Regions from separate parts of the Homo sapiens genome. Here region 1 is linked to region 2. The links are contacts of gene promoters, found by promoter capture Hi-C in blood cells and fetal thymus (Javierre and others, 2016). All regions are on one chromosome and are shown on one strand. Each heading gives the region's core, a stretch centred on a gene start or on the middle of the fragment in contact. The rest is flanking DNA. Distances are from core to core; before and after follow the strand shown. Region 1 overlaps SDK2 (sidekick cell adhesion molecule 2). Region 2 holds the start of LINC00469 (long intergenic non-protein coding RNA 469).

What was found. Contacts are between HindIII fragments. The CHiCAGO score rates a contact against its expected background, and 5 or more counts as called.
Region 1: a fragment that was not itself captured here is called in contact with the fragment with the promoter of LINC00469 in region 2 in 1 of 17 cell types (M2 macrophages); the score reaches 5.3 in M2 macrophages.

Annotation. Positions count from the first base shown.
Region 1 is chr17:73,441,311-73,445,244 of GRCh38, reverse strand. The region is part of intron 5 of SDK2 (sidekick cell adhesion molecule 2); the gene reads left to right. Among named protein-coding and RNA genes, the nearest start is that of SDK2-AS1, 70 kb to the left of the region's middle. The HindIII fragment of the contact is 8,005 bases long and covers 1-3,934 here.
Region 2 is chr17:73,826,140-73,830,317 of GRCh38, reverse strand. It overlaps LINC00469 (long intergenic non-protein coding RNA 469), which reads left to right and starts at 1,781. Exons shown (of 4, transcript NR_027146.1): 1 at 1,781-1,870. RefSeq lists enhancers at 1-442, 443-944, 1,935-2,444. The HindIII fragment of the contact is 4,592 bases long and covers 1,247-4,178 here.

The DNA of each region.
Region 1 (3,934 bases), core at 776-3,275, 390 kb after region 2:
TTTTAACATACAATCAATGTAAAGAATATTAATGGGATATCTTCCATTGGTTTTTTGCATACTAAGTCTTTGAAATCCTTGTGTATTTTACGCTTATATCACATCTCAATCTGGATGTGAAATTTTCACCCGAAATACGTGATCTGTATTTAGATTTCACAAAATTTATAGCTGAAAAGTAGAGTCGTATGCATAAGTTGTTCCGTACATGCTTAAAAGTGTTCTAATAACTGAATTGGGGATCCATTCTTAATTAAATGTAAATTAGTTAAAATTAAATCACATTAAATCAAAGGGACACCAGCCACATTGCAGGAGCTCATAGGCACGTGTGGCTCATGGCCCCTGCATTGGGTGGTTCAGGTCACAGGGCCTGGATACCCTGGCTCCTGGGCAGCTGGAGAACAGGCATCCCAGAAGCCTGCCCAAGAGAGGGGAGCAGCTCACACCCCTGCCCCACCGCTCACCGACCTGTGGCCCAGGCGAGTCCCATGGTCCCTGAGCCTCAGTTTCCCCATCTGTAAACTGGTGCCTATGGCAAAGTTGGGAGGACTAAATGAGGTGGCACAGGTGGGTCACATGGTCTCTGAGCCTCAGTTTCCCCATCTGTAAATTGGTGCCTATGGCAAAAATGGGAGGATTCAATGAGGTGATTCAGGGAGGATGGATCACGTTAGATGTCCCTTGTCCTGGCTGTTACGCAAAGCGTCTGGGGCAGTGAGATCCAGTGAGGCCCCCCGTGTGGGGAGCCCCGTACACTTCCTCCCACCCCAGGGCCCACCCTATGCCAGGAGCTCACCGGGAAGACACCCCTCCTCTTTGCTCGGGCTCACCTGTGATTTTCATGGTCTGGCCTTTGGAGCCCCATTTACCCCAATAACCCACTTGTGCTGGGGTGACCTTCATTAACAGTAAATCTGCTCCAGGACTCACTTCTCTGAGACCCACTCAACTCCCGCTGTCTCCCAGGGAGCCACGCCATGAAATGCCTGAGGCCTTGCCCGGTACCCTGCAGGGCTTAATGTGCGTCCCCGAGCCTGCGACTCCCACCTCTCCATAGCCTCTGAGTCTGTCACTTGGACTAGGGCTAGCAGGGAGAGCTCTTCCCTGCACAGGCAGGCAAATCTCCAGGAGGGGAGGCTGTCATTTATTGAGCACCTACTGTGTACCAGGCACTCTGCAGTCACCCCAGACCAGCTTAGCTGCCCCCTTCCCGGCAACCATCACACGCTCTTTCATTCATTAACCCCACGAGCATTGGTTCGACTTCCTCTGGGACATCACCCTCCATGAGGACAGACCCTGGCCATCTCGCTTGGTGGAGAATCTCTGGTGCCTGGAACACAGCCTGGCACGTGTCAAGCATTCACCTAGGAAAGATTTGTTGAGCTGGGGCCTGAATTCATACAACCCTGAGAGGTAGTGACTTTCATCCCCATTTCCCCCCTGAGAAGACTGAAACTCAGTAGGATGAAGTCACCAGGATACCTGGGGGCAGAGCTAGGCTTTGAGCCCAGGTCTTCCTCACCCCTGGGACCCTTTCTCACTGTGCCAGCATCCCTGGCCACCTCAGCCCCCATCGAGCCCTGCAGGCTGCCACCTGGGCCTGAGCACATGGCCATCTCTCCTCCATTCCTTCCAGAGCCAACGAGCCAGCCCTGAGCCCTGGGGCAGCCCTCGTATTTTTAAACTCAGAACTCGCCTTCCTTGAGGTCTCCCTGTTTACCTGGCTGTGCCATGCGGCGCTCTGGCTTGGGCTCTAACTGTCTGTCTCTTACTTGTGCCCCATTAATCTGAGCCGTGGTACCTGCGCGCCCCCGCATGTAATAAACAACTTAGAGCACACTTTTATGGATTCAGCTATATCAGCAGCTTTCAATCCGATCGCTCGTTATGGCACCTACATGAGGCTTTTATATTGTTGCAATTATTTTGCTTTATATGCTTCCTTTCTTTCCCCCTTCATTTTACTTTATTTTTTACATTTTATGCGCATTCTTCCTGGGCCTTTTCTAGCAAGGCCTGGAGTCAAGGAAGGAAAACCTGCCCAGGGCTGACAAGGTGGCCCAGAGGGGCAGTGGGGCCACTGTGCACCCTGCCCCTAACCCCATAAAGAACAGCCTGTCACTGTCACCGCAGGGCCCAGCATGTCATCATGGCCTACTACCTCCAGAACCTTCTGGAAAGGGGCCAACTGGATAGATTTGTTGTGGAGAAAAAGTCCTCAGAGGTTGTATTTTCAGGAGCCATGGATCAGGCATACACAGAATATTGGAGTTTATGCCAATATCGGGCCTACACTGACCCATCAAGATGAAAATCTGGCCTCTACTTTAAAAAAAAAAACTCAAAATATAAAAAAAAGGAATTGCTACCACCTCTATTAGAAGAGGAGTTTGGAGTGTTTCTCTCTCTTTTTTTTTTTCCAATAAAACCCACTTACAGGAAGTTCTTGTTCATTTCAATCATCGACCCTGGGAGTTGGATGATGGTAACTCTAGATCCATTCATTTGTTCACTTAACACACGTATTTGAGCACTTACTGTGTGCCAGGCATCCTTCTTCGTGCTGGAGGAGAGGTGGTCGTCAAGACCGCAGGAGTTGGCCAGGCGTGGTGGCTCACACCCATAATCCCAGCACTTTGGGAGGCCGAGGCGGGTGGATCATCTGAGGTCAGAAGTTCAAGACCAGCCTGGCCAACATAGTGAAACCCCGTCTCTACTAAAAATACAAAAATTAGCCGGACGTGGTGGTGGCACCTGTCATCCCAGCTACTTGGGAGGCTGAGGCAGGAGAATCACTTGAACCTGGGAGGCAGAGGTTGTGGTGAGCCGAGATCGTGCCACTGCACTCCAGCCTGGGCAACAGAGCCAGACTCCGTCCAAAAAAAAAAAAGACTGCATGAGTCAGCTCTTGGTGCCATAACAAAGCACCACAGCTGGGGGCTTACAAAGCAAATGTTCTGGCTCCCACCATCCTGGAGGCTGGAAGTCCCAGATTGGGAAGCCAGTATGGTCAGCTTCTCTTCTCAGCTTGCAGATGTCTGCCTTCCAGCCGTGTCCTCACATGGCGGAGAGAGAGCCAGCTCTGGCCTCTTCCTCTTTTTATAAGGACATGAATCTGAAATATGGAAATATACACACCTAACAAGTACCTGGAAACCTGCTTTCTGAGAGTTTCATCCTTAACTCTTTCATTTCATTCAATGAGAGAATTAAAGTATTACATGCTTTTCTAAGCAAAAGTTGACAATATGTTAAGAGAACATTTTTCTTTTTCCTTGGGACCCTCATTGGCCCTCATGAGGCCCGGCCCTCGTGGCCTCATCTAATCCTAATCACCTCCCAAGGGACTCCTCCAAATGCCATCACTTTGGAGGTTAAGGCTCAACATATGAATGGGTGGGGGACACAGCTCAGTCCACAGCAAAGACCCATGAGGTTCCTGGTCAGGGAGAATTTTAGTCTCTTATGGCCTGCACAACAAAGTACTACCAGCTGAGTGGCTCACAACAGAAATTGAGCCTTTCACAGTTCTGGAGGCCAGAAGTCTGAAAATCAAGGTGTCAGCAGGGCTATACTTCTCTGAAGATTCTAGAGGAGTCTCATTTCTTGCCCCTTCCTGGCTTCCGGTGGTGGCCAGCAATGCTTGGCATTCCTTGGCTTGTGGCCACATCTCTTCACTCTGCCTCTGTCTTCACAGAGTCTTCCAGGCTGTGCATCTGTGTCTCAATTTCCCTCTTCTTACAAGGACACCAGTCGTATTGGATCTTGAGCCCACCCTGATCCAATATGACCTCACCTTAACTAATTACAAACCTGTAATGATCCTATATGCAAATAAGGTCACATTTACAGGTGCCAGATGGGCATGAATTGGCGGGAGGTGTGTTGGGGGAGGGGGCCGGTGACTCTGTTTGACCTCGTACAGAGA
Region 2 (4,178 bases), core at 532-3,031:
TGAGGTCATACTAGAGTAAGATGGGCCCTTAACCCAATATGATTTGTGTCCTCATATGAAGGGAGAAGAGACACAGCCATGCACAGAGGAAAGACAGTGAAAGCACAGACACGCAGAGGGAGATGGCCTCGTGACAACAGTGGCAGAGGCTGCAGCGATGCAGCTACAAGCCAGGGAACCCGGAGGATTGGTGGTAACCACCTGCAGCTGGAAGAGGCAAAGAGGATGCTCTCCCACAGCCTTCAGAGGGAACAGGCCCCTGGCAAGACCTTGACTTTAGAGCTGGGCCTCCACAATGATGAGAGAAGCCATTTCTGTTGTTTGAAGGCACCCAGTTGATGGCAATTGGTTACAGCGTCCACAGGAGGCTGAAACAAGAGCGAAGACTGTTCCAGCAGAGGGAGGAGCCAGCGCAGATGACTTCACGAGAAAGTTCCTAGGCCTGCTGGAGCAGCGGCCGGGACGCCCAAAGGAGCGGGAGCCCTACAGGCAGGCAGGGATGGTCCCAGAAGGAGTTGGTGCCCAGCCACAGGGTCTTGTAGACCATGGTGATGATGTTTGTTTTATTCTAAGAACGCTGGGAAGTCATTGAAGGATTTTACAAGAAAGATGAAACATGATTTGAAGTTCATTTTTGAAAGATCGCATCAGCTGCTCTGTGAAGAGGAGTTTTGAAAGAGGCAAGAGAGGAGGCAGGACAGCCACTGTGGCCTGCAGGTCCTCAAACGATTACACAGAGTTACCGTGTGACCCACAGTTCCACTCCTCTGTATAGACCCACGAGAAACGAAAACATATATTCATACAGAAACCTGTACAAAATGTTTAAAGCAGCATTATTTGTAATAGCCCAAAGATAGAAACGACATAAATGTCCACCAATGAATCCATACAATGAGGTAGTTATTTGGCCATAGAAAGGAATGAAGTGCCGATAGGACAGCATGAATGAACCCGGGAACCATCACGATAAGTGAAGGAAGCCATTCACAAAAGACCACGGATTGTATGATTCCATTTAGACAAAATGCCCAGAAGAGGCAAATCTCTAGAGACAGAAAGTAGATTACTAGTTGCCTAGGGCTGTAAGGGTGAGCGTTGGGGAGGGGAGATAGCTGAAGGGTCAGAGCTTCTTTTTGAGGTGATACAAATGCTGTAAAATGGACCACGGTGACGATTGCAGCTACATGGAATATACTAGCAACCATTGAATTGTATACTTTTTTTTTTTAAGTGAAAGCAAGCTTATTAGAGAAGTAAAGAAACAAAAGCATGGCCACTCCATAGGCAGAGTAGCCTGAATTGTCCACTTTAAATGGGAGAATTACATAATATATGAATTACATTTCAATAACGCTGTTTAAAAGAAAAAAAAAAGAGTGAAATCTCAGAGGAGGCCACTGAGCACTCTGGTGGAAGAAAATGGTGACTTAGGCCAGGGTCATAGAAGTAGAGACAGCAAGAAGGGATGAAAACAGTGGATTGTGGAGGCCGAATAGACAACCGATGAATAGGTCAACACCTGCTGTCCATCTGTACGAGGGAATATTATTCAGCCATAAAAAGAAATGAAATGAACCTTGCTGCAACATGATGTTAGGTGAAATAAGCCAGACACAAAGGCCCCATATGGAATGATGTCACTTACACGAGGTTTCTACAATAGGCAAATTCATAGAGACAGAAAGAATGGAGGTTACCAGGAACTGGGAGGAGAAAAGAATGGGACATTATTATCTCACAGTTCCAGAATTTGTTTGGGATGATTTAAAAAAAAAAAAAAAAGCTCTGGAAATAGATCATCAGGATGGTTGCACAATGTTTTGAATGTAAATGCCACTGAATTGTACACCTTAAAAGGGCTCAAATGGTAAATATTATGCTATGTATATTTTACCATGATGAAAATAAACGTACAAAAGTGAGACAGCAGTGAGTCTAGGCCTCCCTTTTAAGAAGCGATGGCATCAAAGAGAGCAGAGGAAGAGAGATGGAAGTTAGGAAGGGGTTTTTCAAAGAGCAGATTCACGGGAAACGATTCATTCGTGCAGGAGAGAAAGGATGAAGGAGGAGCGGGGTCCCTTGAATGTCCACAGGCAGAAGACGAGGGCAGAAGGGGAGGAGGTTGTCTTTGTGGCGGACAGAGGAGCTGTGAATAGGGAGGGAAACAAGGGTGTGCCTTCCGTTTACTCAGCACAGGAAGAAGCAAGGCGAGGAAGAACAGGCTCCTTTTTGAAATGCAAAAGCCTGTTCTTATCTAAACACTCTTGCATAAGACAAACAAGAGCGCTACCCAGTTGGTGACTTGGGACAGGAATGCCTGCCACCCTCTTAAACGTTCTCTCCCCTCCCCTAGCCTAGACTGAAGACCTCGGCCTCCAGCTTCTCTCCCAGACCCTTTCTTGGCTGGATGAGGTCACTCACCCCTTTTGAAAGCTCCACAGGCATTTCTGGACCAAGTTCCCTCACTCTTTTAAATGGTTCTGTAATTGCTTCATTCGCATAAACCTGCCCTCCTGGGCATCTGAACAGCCCCAGGGCAGGGCCTGACTGCAGAGCCAGCTTCCTTACGCCAAGGCCCTCGTGCCTGCGTCCCTCCTCGCCTTCAGCCATGAGGTTGCCTGGCCAGCGGTGGGGGTCGCCTGGATCGTGGGGATGTTCCCCCCACCCACCTGGCCCCACCAGTGAAGGGCCCCAGCTGACACCATCTCTCTTGTTTCCTGTTTTCCTGGGTCAGACCCAGCTGGAGGTCTGCAAATTCTGAAGCAGTTCTCAACCCTGGGTGCACATTTTAATCATTTTTTACAAAATACGAATGCCTGATGTCCAGCCCTGACACTGGTCTGCTTGGTCTGGGGGTGAGGCCCTGGAACGGATGTGTTTAGATTTCCCATGAGACTCTGATGTGCAGCCAGGGTACCAACCTCTGCTCTAAAGCAGGTGAGATTGCCCTGGGGACTTCATTAGAATCAGTGCCCAATTCCTCCACCCCCGCAGAGATTTCGCTTCTGGAAGTCCAGAGTCGAGGTCCAAGAATCTGTGCATTTTAACAATACAGCCCCCAGGGGAGCTTGATGAAGGTCCCTTGGGAAGTTCAGGGCATGGTGCAGGGGACACTGTCTCTCTCTCCTTCCCTCTCATCTGCATCAGCTCCCCAGGCAGGTGGCACTTTCTCTGGACAGGTCTGGAGTCAGGGCTGCAAGGCTGGTTTATGCCTGGAGGTCGGGGGATGATGTGAGGTGTGCATAGAGAGAAGCCCCTGTGAGGAACGGGGACCACTCCTGCTCACCCACATCAGTGACAGCCCAGCCTGGGGCTGGCCCTGGAAGGCCAAAGAGTGAACAGGTCTGGGGGCTGGTGCTGGGTTGAGCTCAAGGGCCTGGGGCTGGGGTCTCCATTCCAGATTCCTCCTTCCCTCTGTCACTTCAAGTACCATCAGAGCCACCTGGGGATTTTGTCCTGAGTCACTCTGAGGCAGAGCAGGTGAGGCTGTGCTGGGGAGGAACATGGGGGCCTGAGCCCCCGACTCCTCCCCATTCCCCCACCTGCCCTGCTTCAAGGACTTGTCTAAACTACACAATGCCAGGCCGGCGCTCCCAGCTTGGGCTCTCACCCCAGGTCCCATTGAGAAGGTGGAGAAGGGTCAGGATGGAAGTTTCAGGCAGGTGGTCCAGGAGAGGACAGTCCTGGGTGGAGTCTGGGTCTTGGGTGCTCTGGGCAGCTCATCACCTTGAGTGTCCAGACTGTCAAGTCCGAGCGAGACAGGCAAAACCCCTAAGTGGACAAGAGTTGGCAGGGACCAGGGCAATGATTAAATCCACTTCAGATCATTTCTGTGGCCGTCTTGTTACCCAGCCCTGGCTATGTGTTTCAATAACGGCTGACAGCGGGTGCAGTGAGCTGGGCTGGAAACTGCCACATCCATCCACCCTGCTCAGGGACAGCTGCTCCCCTATCCACAATTCCCTTGTCCCAGAGGCCAGGACTGAGGCCAGGACACTGACTAGACACCCAGGCCTCCTGGCCTCTAAGAGCCACTCATGGGAGTCATCCACGACATCTGGGGAACCTCCTTGACTTCAGAGGAGGATATTGGAGCCCAAGCTAATTGATGGGTAAGCCAGGACCTGAACACAGGTGGTCAAGCTCCATCCTCCCCTTGGAGAGAGGACACAGTC